5 separate regions of the Homo sapiens genome follow, and all the other regions are linked to region 1. Evidence: promoter capture Hi-C in 16 types of primary human blood cells and fetal thymus (Javierre and others, 2016). All regions are on one chromosome and are shown on one strand. The core of a region is centred on a gene start or on the middle of the fragment in contact, and the rest is flanking DNA. Distances in the headings are between cores, read along the strand shown.

The links. The method cuts DNA at HindIII sites, captures the fragments that hold promoters and counts their contacts. A CHiCAGO score of 5 or more calls a contact.
Region 2: a fragment that was not itself captured here is called in contact with the fragment with the promoter of IGF1R in region 1 in 1 of 17 cell types (fetal thymus); the score reaches 5.0 in fetal thymus.
Region 3: a fragment that was not itself captured here is called in contact with the fragment with the promoter of IGF1R in region 1 in 5 of 17 cell types (endothelial precursors, fetal thymus, M0 macrophages and 2 more); the score reaches 12.6 in endothelial precursors.
Region 4: a contact is called between a fragment that was not itself captured here and the fragment with the promoter of IGF1R in region 1, in 1 of 17 cell types (fetal thymus). The highest score is 7.9, in fetal thymus.
Region 5: a fragment that was not itself captured here is called in contact with the fragment with the promoter of IGF1R in region 1 in 2 of 17 cell types (fetal thymus and M0 macrophages); the score reaches 6.0 in fetal thymus.

The regions. Positions count from the first base shown.
Region 1 is chr15:98,647,152-98,649,846 of GRCh38, reverse strand. IGF1R (insulin like growth factor 1 receptor) reads right to left here and starts at 1,308. Exons shown (of 21, transcript NM_000875.5): 1 at 172-1,308. The coding sequence starts at 265. It overlaps IRAIN (IGF1R antisense imprinted non-protein coding RNA), which reads left to right. Exons shown (of 1, transcript NR_126453.2): 1 at 1-2,695. RefSeq lists silencers at 1,284-1,553, 1,924-1,983, 2,044-2,513, 2,524-2,573 and an enhancer at 2,585-2,695. The HindIII fragment of the contact is 3,709 bases long and covers 1-1,807 here.
Region 2 is chr15:99,114,110-99,116,804 of GRCh38, reverse strand. All of the region lies in intron 2 of SYNM (synemin), which reads right to left. Among named protein-coding and RNA genes, the nearest start is that of SYNM-AS1, 9.6 kb to the right of the region's middle. The HindIII fragment of the contact is 9,267 bases long and covers 1-2,695 here.
Region 3 is chr15:99,078,331-99,081,025 of GRCh38, reverse strand. No RefSeq gene overlaps it. Among named protein-coding and RNA genes, the nearest start is that of SYNM, 25 kb to the left of the region's middle. The HindIII fragment of the contact is 562 bases long and covers 1,020-1,581 here.
Region 4 is chr15:99,061,366-99,064,060 of GRCh38, reverse strand. No RefSeq gene overlaps it. Among named protein-coding and RNA genes, the nearest start is that of SYNM, 42 kb to the left of the region's middle. The HindIII fragment of the contact is 7,563 bases long and covers 1-2,695 here.
Region 5 is chr15:99,019,304-99,021,998 of GRCh38, reverse strand. The region is part of intron 1 of LUNAR1 (leukemia-associated non-coding IGF1R activator RNA 1); the gene reads right to left. Among named protein-coding and RNA genes, the nearest start is that of LUNAR1, 5.9 kb to the right of the region's middle. The HindIII fragment of the contact is 4,877 bases long and covers 1-2,695 here.

The DNA of each region.
Region 1 (2,695 bases), core at 59-2,558:
CGGGTCCGCTGCAGCCTCCCTCCCGGCAGAGCCGCCCTGCGCCCCACCCCGCCGCTCCCGAGCCCGGGGGCCCGACAGCTGCGACGGTGGCAACTCGGGTTTCGCAAACAGGGCGCAGCCCCTCGGAGGAAAAGTTCCCGCAGTGGCCGCGGGCGGCGGGCACATACTCACTTTCTCCACTCGTCGGCCAGAGCGAGAGCGCGGCGGAGAGAAACAGGAGCCCCCACAGCGAGGTCGGGGACCCTCCTCCGGAGCCAGACTTCATTCCTTTTATTTGGGATGAAATTCCCCTTTCTCAAAAAAAAAAAAAAAAAAAAAAAAGAAAAGAAAAGAAAAAAAGGAAATGAAAGGAAACAAGTCTCAAACTCAGTCTTCGCTCCCCCTCCAAAAACAAGGGCGAAGGAAACAATACTCCGAAGGCGGCGCCGCCGGGGCCCTCCGGGTGCGCGGACGGGGCGGGCGGCGCGGGGCGGCCCCTCAGCGCCGGCAGCAGCGGCCCAGGGCTCGGCGGAGTCGGGAACCCGAGGCGCGCCGGGGCGGGCTGTCGGCGTCGTCGGCCTCCATTTTCAAACCCGGAGAGGCAGGAAGGGGGGAAAACTGCAAAGAAAGGGGGCAAAGCCCAAATCTGCCTAGGCGAGGAAAAACAAGCCCGGCCCTGGCCGCGCGGGAGGCGGCCGGACGCCCGAGCTTCCGCCGCGGGAGGGCGCGACGCAGTTCGCAAGATCGCCCCGAAGTCCGGGTCACAGGCGAGGCCGGCGAGGGGCAGAAACGCGGAGTCAAAATGAATGAGCGGCTCCCCCTCCTCCTCCTCCTCCTGGCTCCGCTCGCCGCCGCCTCCTCCCTCAGCGCCGCCGCCGCCGCGGCGAGCTCCTTCCCAAATCCAGGACACACACAAAGCGGCGGGCCGGCCGCGCCGCGCTCAGCACTCCCGCCGCGCCGCCCGGCTCTGCGCCGCCGCCCGCCCCGCGCCGGCCCCCGCCCGGCCCCCGCCCGCCGCCGCCTGCTCTGCGCGGGGGCTCCGGCTCGCTGAAGGTCACAGCCGAGGCGAGGCGCGCCGTGGAGCTGCCCCCGCGCGGGAGGGGCGTGGAGGGCGCGGGGGGATCCGGGGAGCGGGGCCGAGGGTCTGCGAGCGCCGGCCGTGGGCAGGCTCGCTGGCGGCGTCCCTCTCGCTCTCCCGCCTCTCTCGAGTTCGCCTGGTGCGCTCGCTCCTCCTCGGGTTTTTTCCCTTTTTTTTTCCGCTCAGCGGAGTTAATGCTGGTAAACAAGAGCCCCAGCCTCGCCGCGCCGCCGCCGCCGCTGCCACACACTGGGGGCTCGCGCGCGCGCGCGCGCCCTGGCCCGCGCACACGCGCCCGCTCGCACACTCGAGCGGCCACCGCCGCAGCAGCGGCGCGCCGAGGGCCCGGCCCAGGCCGGCGCGCGCAAAAAACCGGAGCCCGGTTCCCCAAGACGTGCGGAGCGGAGCCCGGGCGTGGGGCGCGAGACTGCGAGGCGCCGCCCCCATCTCCCGCCCCACCGCCTCCCGCGCGCACACAGAGACACGCGCGCGTGCCCACCCGCTCCCGCCCCCACCGCACTGCGCCGGCCACCCCGCACGCGCCCTCCCCTCCCGCCCGACTCCAAAAACAATGCCCCCGCCGCCGGTCCGGTCTCGGCGGGGCAGGGGTGGGTAGCCAGGGAAAGGCTAGGCAGGGGAGGGGTGGGCAGGAGAGGGGAGGGGTGGGCGGGGAGTGCGGGGCTGGGAGAGGTTCATTGAAAACAACAACAGCGCGGCTGGAAAGCGCGTTTCCCCGGTTCTTGAAAAGCTTCATTGTTTCTTGCAGCTGTTGCAAAATAAATAAATGCGTGCATGCGGCATTTTTTTCGCTGCGTACTGGAAAGCCCGAACGTGGCGGAAGGGGCGCACCTGGGAGAAAGGGGACCCCCCCCCCAGGCTACTACGCCGGGCACTTTCACGCCAGGCTGGGGTGCCCGCGGCGTTGCGACCGTGGAGCCCGGAGTTTGGGGGCTCAGGGGGAGCGGAGGGGGAAGGGCGCGGCCCGTGTGGCTCGGCCCAGAGTGGCTCGAGGAGAGAGGACCCCGCCGCCCCTCGCGGGCCCCGCGCCCCGGAAGGGGGGCCCAGACAGGCAGCGCCGCGTGCCCCGGGCGCGTCCCCGCGGCGGCCGCCAGAGGGCGCGGCGGGCGCTGGGGAGGGCAGCCCGCGGAGAGTCGCCTCCCTCCCTCCGGGGGAGGAAATGTGGGGGCCCGGGCTGGGGGCCGACTCGGCTGGGTCGCGCTGGCGTGGCCTCCCGGACCAGCCGCCCGCCCTGAGCGCTCTCCGCGGCCTCGCGCAGCTCAGGGCTCCACCACGTGGGCGGCTGCGGGGAGCGGCCGGGGCGCGTGCACGCTGCGGGTCTCCGAAGCTCGGGGGGCGTGTCCGGGTCCCGGGGCGCCGAGGAGGGGGTGGAGGCTGGGGCCGGGAAGCCTCCCTTGGCCGCGGTCCCGACCCGGGAACACGCCGCATGCACTCGGGATCAGCGGCTACTGCGGAAACCCACCCGCACCTGTCTCGGGTCCTCCCAGGCACGTTCCTCTTGCTTCGTTTGCTACGTAAGTGACTGGAAACCAGTACCGACCCTAAGTCTCCGCGGTTGTTTTCTTGAATGTGCAGGAGGAGAGGTTTCCCCAAAGCGAGACTCCCCTAGGACTGCCATCT
Region 2 (2,695 bases), core at 126-2,625, 470 kb before region 1:
CTCGGGAGGCTGAGGCAGGAGAATCAGGAGAATTGCTTGAACCCGTGAGGTAGAGGTTGCAGTGAGCCAAGATCGCACCACCACACTCCAGCCTGGGTGACAGAGTGAGACTCCATGTCAAAAAGAAAAAAAAAGAACCTGACACCTCCCCACTCTCTTGCTCGCTCTCTTGCCATGTGACATGCCTGCTGCCCTTTCACCTTCCACCATGACTGTATGCTTCCTGAGGCTTCACCAGGAGCAGATGCCAGCACCACGATTCCGGTACAGCCTGCACAACTGTGGGCCAAAATAAACCTCTTTTCTTTGCAAATTATCCAGTCTCAGTTATTCCTTCATAACACAGAGTAGACCAGCACAAGACTTTCAGGTATATGAGTAATAAATTCTTTTTCTGACTTGGGGCAGTCTGAGGAGAGTTTCTGTCACTCACAAATGAAAAATTCCTGATTAATGCTTTCTTCCCCCAAATAAAGCCCGAGTGTTTTCAAGTTTTCCATATTAAAGTTTAGATCATCTAACTCAACGTGTGTTTCAATGCCCTACCAATTTAATTGTGCAACTGTTCACCCCACAAGATTTCCAAGGAGAATGCCAACAATGGGCTTTGGGAAGTCCAGTCTGGCAACATCTTTTCCCCTTTCTCTGAGCCCCGGCCACCAGCCCCTCAGTGGCAGCAAGGCTCTCAAATGGGGGATCCAGAAAGGCCCTCATGGCCTTAGCCCCAGGACCACCCCTCAATTCATCCCTTGGTGAAGCCGTGGCTCCTCCATGGACTCCATGTCCCTGGGAAGGCCTCACCCCTTAGCAGCCTCCTGGGGCCCAGGCCAGGGGCTGCCTGATAGAGCTGCTCCCTCTTCACTGATGGGAGTGAGGGCTCAGATGAACCCTGGCTGATGTAAGTCTTCCAGAAAATAAAGACAGTGAGGCCGGCCCAGGCTGCAATGTAAACTACAAGCAACGTATCAGCCAGATACCCTTTTAATAGACATCAAAGCAATTCAGGTCACCTTGATATTCTTAGAGCAAAAAATCCTGATCAGGGCCGGGCGCAGTGGCTCACACCTGTAATCTCAGCACTTTGTGGCGGCGAGGTGGGTGGATCACCTGAGGTCAGGAGTTCGAGACCAGCCTGACCAACAAGGTGAAACCCTGTCTCTACTAAAAATACAAAAATCAGCCAGGAATGGTGGCAGGGGCCTGTAGTCCCAGCTACTCAGGAGGCTGAAACAGAATTGCTTGAACCCAGGAGGCGGAGGTTGCAGTGAGCTGAGCTCGTGCCACTGCATGCCAGCCTAGGAGATGGAGCAAGACTCCATCTCAAAAAAAAAAAAATAGAATAAAATAAATAAAATTAAAATTAAAATAAAAAATAATAAAAAAAATGAAAAAAAAAATCATGATCAGAAGATTACACAGGCAGCCTACAAGATGTGCTGAACTAGGCCTGGGGATGGTCCCTGCTCTACCCCTCACCAGGGGAGTTGGTCCCCTTCTTAACCTCTCCAGGTTTAATCTGCCACCTGTGAAGGAGACACCACTGGAGATGACCAGACTTTGACTCTTCTGCCAAAGCGGTTTCCACAGCTTGCTCACACCCTCCACTGCCACATGTTCCACAATCCTGGGAACGGAGCAGGCACTGTGCCCTTTTTACACGGCTTGGTGGGGATGGCACAGCTTTGGCACCAGACCTGGCTGGCTCTGCCCCTCACCAGCCTGCAGCCCCAACCTCCCGGCCTCTCTCTCTCACCTCTAAGAGGGGAGAGTGGTGCCCACCTCAGAGTTGACTCGGAGCAGAGAATAGTGGCAAAGAACTCAGCACCACGTCTGGCAGGCAGTAAGGACGCCATAAAGCTGGCTATTGTTAGTGTTCCTGAAGTTGGGCAACTGGGTCTCTAAAATTCCTTCCACTGTAAGCGTCACAGACCCTGGCTCCTTCATAGCTGCCCTGAGCATGAGAGCTGCCAGGAAACAAGGGGCACCACCTCAATCAAAGACGCACTGGCACCCAGGGGAAAGGAGGGTGATGCCAAGGAGGGGAGGAGCACTGTTCCGCCGGCCTGCAGGCCACACCCAGGGGGACTGGACTGCATTCTCTGCCCCACCCAGCACCCAGCCCCTTTGAGCGCTTTGTGACCTTTTCATCAGAGTTGGTTACCTTGAACTCAAGTCAACATCTTGATACATAAAGCCAGTTGGCCTACATTAGCATGCACCATGCTAATCTCTTGGAAGAGATTCAGTTCAGGGCCAAACCCACACAGGGTGGCATCAGAGCCCTGAGATTCAAAGCAACAATCAAGCAGATAGACACAGACTTCCTGGGTCCAAATCCTGTGACACGGTTTGGCTCTGGGTCCCCACCCAAACCTCATCTCGATTTGTAACCCCCACGTGTTGAGGGAGGGACCTGGTGGGAGGTGACTGGATCATGGGAGCAATTTTCCCCACGCTGTTCTCATGATAGGGAGTGAGTTCTCATGAGATCTGATGCTTTAAAAGTGGCAGTTTCCCCTGAGCTCTCTCTCTCTCCTGCCACCTTCTGAAGAAGGTTCTTGCTTCTCCTTTGCCTTCCGCCACGATTGTAAGTTTCCTGAGGCCTCCCCAGCCCTGCGGAATAACTGTGAGTCAATTAAACCTCTTTCCTTTGTAAATTACCCAGGCTCAGGTAGGATCTTTATAGCGGTGTGAA
Region 3 (2,695 bases), core at 51-2,550, 430 kb before region 1:
TTACAAGCAACTTGTGAATTTACACACACACATACAATCTCCTAGAATTTTTATTGGAATTGTATTGATTCTATAGATCAATTTTGGGGGAGAAATTACATTTTTACAATATCGAGGGTCCATGTGAGTTAACCAGCAAAGAGCTTTTTCAAGCTTTATATTTTCTATGATTTTACTCAATGAGAATAAGTAAAGCTAATAATCAAAATAACAACAATAATTTTAATACCTAACATTTGTAATAGTTACTACACACTGGATTTTTGGGTTAAGTGCTGTATAGCCATTATATTATTTACTTAGAAAAATTAACTGTTAAAATTTACCAAAAATTATGAGACCTCCATGAAGAAAGCTATACATTTTGTTACAGGGTGTAAAAACAATATTTCAACTAATTGTGAGACACAGGATGTCCTTGAATGGGAAGAATTAATCATCATAAATGTCAGTGATTTCCAAATAAATATGTACCTTAAATTAATTCCAATCAGAATATCAATGGTGTTTTCCTGGGGCTATACAAAAAGTACTTAGCATTTATATTGGAGAAATTCTAAATGTTTTAGAACTGACAACAAAAATATTTAATTGTGAAAAGACAGTGGGTGGGATTCCCTTACCAGCTATTAAAACTTTCTAGAAAACTAATATAATAATTTTAAAACTGTATGACTTTAGCTTATAAATAAGTGTACAGATCAGAAGACCAGAAAGTCAAAAAAAATCTGAGTATATATTCAAATTTAATACATGATAAAGATGGCATTTTAGTTCAGTGGGAGAGAAGATGATTTATTTAATTAATACTGCTAACATAATTGGTTATTGATCTGGAAAATAACACCTCCAGCCATGAATAAAATCATTATGAATGAATTAACCCTAAATGAAAAATAAAAAAATGGAATAAATTTAGGAGAAAATGTGTATAATTTCAAGATTGGAGCATGGCATGGGTGGGGGGTATTGCTTATGCATAACAGGAAATCTAGAATCCAGAAGAGAAAAGACAAGCTTGACTATAAAAAGTTAAAACATGGCCAGGTGCAGTGACTCATGACTGTAATCCCAACACTTTGCCAGGCCAAGGTGGGAGGATCACTTGAGGACGCCAAGAGAAGCCAGGGCAACCTAGGGAGACCCTGTCTTTACAAAAAAAATTTATAAATTAGCCAGGCATGGAGGCAGAAGTGGGAGAATTGTCTGAGCCCAGGAGTTCGTGATTGGGCCACTGCACTCCAGCCTGGGCAACAGAGCAAGACCTTGTCTCAAATAAATAAATAAATAAAAAGTAATAAAAGTTAAAACACAAGAACAGATTGGGGAAAATATCTGCAACATTCTTGATTTCTGAGTTAATATCTGTAATATATAAGGAGCTCTTGGAACTGATAAGGAAAAAAACTTACCCAATAGAAATATGCAGAAAGGACGTGACTGGGCAATACATAGGAAGGGAAATGAAAATGGTCAATAAATGAAAGATCCCCAGACTCACTAGACAGGGAAATGCAATGTATTTTATAAGGTAACATGATAGCATTTCTCACAAATCATATTGGCAAGAATTAAAAAGCTTGATAGCATTCAGTGCTTATGAAGGTGTAGATGGAACAGTTCATACAGTGTTAGTGGGAGAGTGAATTGCTGTCCTTTGGATGAAGAACGCTGGCCAGAAGCTTTGGTTAAATGTCAAACATATACACCATCTAACCAAAGAAATCCACTGGTGGATGTTATACCTCAAAGGACACATATTTACGGATGCTTTTTCATTTTTCACAGCTATTGAAAATCAGGCCTTATTTCTGGGCTCTCTGCTCTGTTCCACTGGTCTAAATGTCTGTTTTTGTACCAGTACCATGCTGTTTTGATTACTGTAGCCCTGTAGTAAAATGTGAAGTCGAGTAAGGTAATGCCTCCAGCTTTGTTCTTTTTGGTTAGGATTGCCTTAGCTATTTGCGCTCTTTTTTGGTTCCATATGAATTTTTAAATAGTTTTTTCTAGATCTCTGAAGAATGTCCTTGGTAGTTTGATAGGAATAGCATTGAATAAGGCCACATACCTACAACCATCTGATCTCTGGCAAAGCTGACAAAAACAAGCAATGGGGAAAGAGCTCCCTGTTTGATAAGTGGTGCTGGGATAACTGTCTAGTCATATGCAGAAGATTGAAATTAGACCCCTTCCTTACACCATATGCAAAAATCAACTCAAGATGAATTCAAGGCTTAAATGTAAAACCCAAAACTATAAAAGCCTTGGAAGACAACCTAAGCAACACCATTCTGGATATAGGGACTGGCAAAGATTTCATGGTGAAGACACCAAAAGCAATTTCCACAAAAGCAAAAATTGACAAATGGGATCTAATAAAATGTGGGAGCTTCTGCACAGCAAAAGAAACTATCAACAAAGTAAACAGACAACCTACAGAATGGCAGAAAATATTTGCAAGGTCTAATATTCAGCATCTATAAGGAGAAAACAACCTAATTAAAGAGTGGGCAAAGAACATGAATAGACACTTTTCAAAAGAAGACATATGTGGCCAACAAGCGTAAGAAAAAAAGCTCAAGATCACTGATCATTTGAGAAATGCAAATAAAAACTGCAGTGAGATACCATCTCACACCAGTCAGAATGGCTACTATTAAAAAGTGAAAAAATAACAGATGCTGGTGAGGTTGTG
Region 4 (2,695 bases), core at 143-2,642, 410 kb before region 1:
TGGCTCATGCCTATAATCTCAGTACTTTGGGAGGCTGAGGCGGGTGGATCACTTGAGGTCAGGAGTTTGAGACAGCCTGAACAACATGGTGAAACCCCGTCTCTACTAAAAATACAAGATTAGCCAGGTGTGATGGTGCACGCTTGTAATCCCAGCTACTTGGGAGGCTGAGGCAGGAGAATTGCTTGAACCCGGGAGGCAGAGGTTACAGTGAGCCGAGATTGCGCCATTGCACTCCAGCCAAGAGCTAAAGTCCGTCTCAAAAAAAAAAAAAAAAAGATGTGACTTTCACTCAGCCAGAAGAGTCTGAATTTGTCTGTCGTCTTCAAGCTGTGGAAGAGGACTGGAAAGGGAGACAATGACCATTTCTCTTCCCCCATTCCTGTGCAGCAGGCTCTTGCCTGCAGTAGGTCCTACAGTGGAGGGGCAGCAGCTGTCACTGTGAAGGAAGGCAGAGACTCTGGTTATCAGCCGGCACTGCATGTAACCAGTCTCTGGAGAGGAGGCTGTCTCTGTTGTCACCTCCAACATCCTATGCCCCTAAGAGTGACCAGGAAAGACATGGAACTGACCTGAGACTTCATCCAGAACCAGAAAAGGCAATTCTGAGGGACATTTCAAGGGAAAACGTGAGACAAAAATCAGTTACTTTCATGATGACATCCCAGGAGTACTGCCTGCTCAATAAGCCAGTCTCCCACATTTTGACGTCTTTACTCTAAAATCGATGTGTGAATATCTCTAAGCGATGTCTGAGAGACGATTTTAAAAACAAAAATAGTAAATGTCCGTAGTAATTTCGACTTAAGTAAACAATCTTCTAAAAATGCATAATGACACTCACAGCCTATGATGTGTCGGATGTCCTGTGCTCCAACATGGCTCCACCATAGCCCTGGCATTGGGCATCCCTGGATCCATTTTTACATAGAAGGAAGCTGCCAAGGGGCAGACCTCAGATGGCAGTGTGGATCAGTTTGACCACATTGTCTCTGCAGTCTCTTTAATCTAATGTGTGTCTGGGAGCTCCAGGGTTTTGAATGGGTTTCCATTTTCCAAAATGTGGGCATGCCTTGTGGTTCATTCAGAGACAACCAACAGATGGGCCAAGTCAGGATGGCTTTGTGATCAGGAACATGGCTTGGCCATTAGACAGCCTGGGCTCAAATCCCAGGGGGATTATCCATGAGTGACCTATCCTTAGAAAAGCTACCTAGGTGAAGGACTGTGCTTCACACATGCCTGGCACATGCAGGAAGCTCTTTATACACAATAGTAGCCACTGTTGTAATTATTCTTGTCCTTGGACTTGAAACCTGGGAAACGAGGTAAATCCCTCCTAGAGAAGGCTTCTCTGTTTCCCGACAACTTATTGGATAATTCAGGGCTGGGTCCTTGTTCTTGGAGAGCTACAAGTATAGGAGGGACACTGACTGAGATCTGAAGGGTACAGATCTAAACATCTTTCCCTCATCCCCCTCTGCCTTCAAACATCTGCCCCACTGGCCTGCCCCACAATCGTAAATTTCATCGTTCACCTTCCTTTGGGTATTATCTCTGAAAGCTCCTGTTAACAAGTAGAAGGGCTAGCACACTTTGGGTTATAGCGCCCCTGCCACAATACCCTGGATTGCTTTGAGATATGGACATGTACTGGTGTTGCGGGGCTACCTGGCAACCTTCCCACTTCCTTTCCAGGGGATTTTCCCTACTGTGGGAATCTCAGACAATGGGGCACACACAGGAGTATGCTGGAGCACAGCTCACCAGCCCACCAGCACCAACTTTTACATTCTCAGGAATCCTTCGAGCTGGTTGTTAAATGGTTGGCAAATAAAAATCAGTCATGGTGGGAATGTCTCCATGGAAGTCAGCAAATGCTGCAAATCCGGGCTTTTCCCACTGGTGAGCAAGCTGCTAAACGTTTCCCAGCCCAACACCCAGCACAGCACTTGGGTTTAGCCACCTGATCCTCCCTCTGAGGCCTTGACTCTCAATCAAGTGATCCAAGACACAGGAACAAGACAGAATCCATGTACTGCAGGGGCAGCTGGCCATGGCAGGGCAGGGGGGAATCTAGTGCGGGTGGTGGCAGTGCCCAAGGGTGCCAGCGTCAGCTGCCTCTCCCTGGCATGACTTTGGCCAAGTCTTCCTCTTGCCTTCCTTCCTTCATTTCCTGCCCAATTTCTAAGCCTTCTTCTCCTGCCTTCCCATCCATTCCAAGAGCTTCCCTTTTCTGCTATGTTAATCAGAGCTAATTCCTGCTGAGGGGTCTGGTCCATATAGGTGACTAATCATTTGACAGACAGAGGTCCCTGAGAAAAGCAAATAAGCTCTCATTTTGATTCCTCAAGAAGGAAGGCTGCTTGGGGCAGAGCAGCCTGGACTTAGTCACTTAGCGAACATTTATGGAGCACCTACTGTGTGCAGGCACTGCCCTAGTGCCAGGACAGGAAAGGAACAGGTACATCTCTGTCCCCAAGGAACTTACCACCTAGCTAATGGAAGCAGCTCTCAAACAACTAATTATGCAATTAATTTTTCTGTGGATTGCTCCATCATCATTGGGTTATACCAAATTACTGATAAATATTTGAATCCTGCAGTGGGTAAAGTACCATGCAATGTACAATGGGCATACCGAAAAAGATGAAACAGTCTGTGCCTCCCTTCCGAGTTCACAGTTTAGCTGACA
Region 5 (2,695 bases), core at 104-2,603, 370 kb before region 1:
GAGCCTCTCCTCCACACACACATACACACACACACACACACATCACAAGGAGTTCCCCTCTTGCCCTCCCCAGGCACTCCCAGGCCTCAGCCTCAGGGCAGTTCCTGGTGGTTCTGTGGCTGCCCTGCTTTGGAAGAGCAAAGAAGCATGGAAAGTTTTCTGTGCCTTGAGAGTTAATAGGCATTGGTTTGAGCAGGTTCCTCTTAGGAGGGAAATGAAGCCATTGCCTGGGGATATAGAATGCAAAAGGTTTGAAGTGAGAAGGCACAGAGTGGACCAGAGAATGGGACAGGAAAGAAAGACAAGGAGAAGAGCAGTGGTGGGTGGAGGGACATGGCTGGATTTCAACAGTGGCCTTTGGATTCACGCAGCCTGTGTGCCCCACCTCTGCCCAAGCCTGCTGACTACTGGCCTAGGAAAAGCAAACCAACAACCACAGGTGGGCACACTAGAAGGCATGGCATTTCTAAACCACCACTGTTGTGTGCCAAAGTCCCAGACCTTCAGGTCCAGCAGGTGTCACTGACCTGCAACTGCTCCCCAGCCTTCCAGCAACCCTGACTTTAAAAGTCATGTGACCCCCGGGGCATCTGACCAAGCATTTACATTTTTCCCTAAAGTTTCTTTCTATACCACAAAACAGCCATTTTCTACAGTCCTCTGAATTTCCCAGGGCTGAGCTGTAAATCTGAATACCAGAGGAACCAGCAGCCAGCCAATGTCAGGAGCCCAGCAAAGGCCGGTCAGCTGGCCGCCAGACTAGGGCTTCAAAGTTCAAAACGACAACACTCAGCATCCACTGCCCTGCCACCACCCTATCCAAGTCTGGTCATTCACTCTGTCCTGCCAGGCCATGGCAGGACCCATGTGGAGAGGGACAGGACACCAGCCATCTTATGCTGTGGAGATCCCATTTCATACAGATATCCTACAGCCCCTGATGTGTAGAAAGGGGGTGATAAGAGCCATCTCTAGTGTAGATGCCACTACATGGCAAGGAATCACAACAGAAGATGGAAATACAGACGCCTTGGCCATCAGGGGAACTCACTGTGGACCCGGCCCTCCCAGGAAGAACAGGACCCCTGGAAAGACATTCTAGGGGATGGGCTGCCCAGAGCCCTGGCCAGGTGGTGGCAAGCCAGCTCGTCGATACACCCAATCACAAAAAAATCCCTCCTAGCAAACTTTCCTACAGCAGATAGACTATACTATCTGCTTGGGTGAGAAGTAACTGACAACCTCCATGGCCAGGTAGACTTTCAGAGGCCACCTCATCCTTTCCTTTCACACTGATGAAGGAATGGGAATAGTCTGTGGCAGTGTTATGAGTCCAAATATCCAGCCCAGTCCCTGCCCATGGTCCCCAGCGAGACCCTGCTCCCCAAGAACTGAAATCCCAGACGTGCTGGGTCCACGTTCCCCTACAGACACTTACACACCATGGACTAGAGAAGATCCAAAATGGCTGAAGACTATTTGGTTTGGGAGAGTTTTTTTGTTATTTTTTGAGATGGGGTCTCACTCTGTCACCCAGGCTGGAGTGCAGTGGTGCAATCTTGCCTCACTACAACCTCCACTTCCCAGGTTCAAGCAATTCTCGTGCCTCAGCCTCCCGAGTAGGTGAGATTACAGGTATGAGCCACTGTGCCCGGCTATATTTTGTATTTTTTTTGGTAGAGATGGAGTTTCACCATGTTGGCCAGACTGGTCTCGAACTCTTGGCCTCAAGTGATCCACCCGCCTCTGGTTTTTTAAAATTTTATGTCTACATGAGGTCATCTCTGAAGGAGTCCCCTTAGAAACTGAATCATAAATTATTTACTTTCTGGGCCTCTAATTTTTTGGAGGGGACCCCCACTTTTTGGAGGGGAGGGAGCATCCACTTTGAACCTCACCCTCATGACAGATTCCTTTCTCTGGGTGGAGTCAAACCGCCACCAACCCCATGGCCACACTGCCACTTACTATCCAGGTGACCTTAGGCAAGTTACTTCGTCTCTGTGCCTCAGCTTCCTCACCAGTGAAATGAGAATCATAACAATACAGTAGTCCCCCCTTATCCTCAGTTTTGCTTTCCGAGGCTTCAATTATTTGCAGACCGCCATAGTCTGAAAATATTAAATGGAAAATTCTAGAAATGAACAGTTGGAAAGTTTTTAATTGCATGTTGTTCTGAGTAGCATGATGAAATCTCGAGGCATCTGGATCTGTCCAACCGGAGGCATGAATCATCCCTTTGTCCAACGGATCCACGCTGTCAATGCTCCTTGTCTATTAGTCAGTGAGGAGCCATCTCAATGATCAGATTAATTGTCCTGGCGTCACAGTGCTTGTGTTCAAGTAATTCTTATTTAATCACTGCCCCAAAGCGTAAAAGTAGGGATGCTGGCAATTCAGAAATGCCAAAGAGATGCTGTGAAGTGATGCTTGCTTGCTTTCCTTCCTTCCTTCATATATGTGTGTATATATATGTATATGTATATATATATATATATATATTTTTTTTTTTTTGAGACAAAGTCTCTGTCGTCCAGGCTGGAGTGCCGTGGCACCATCACAGATCACTGCAGCCTCAACCTCCCTGGGCTCAGGTGATTCTCCCACCTCAGCCTCCCAAGTAGCTGGGACTACAGGTGTGTACCACCACACCTGGCCAATTTTTGCACTTTTTTGTAGAGACAGGGTTTCGCCA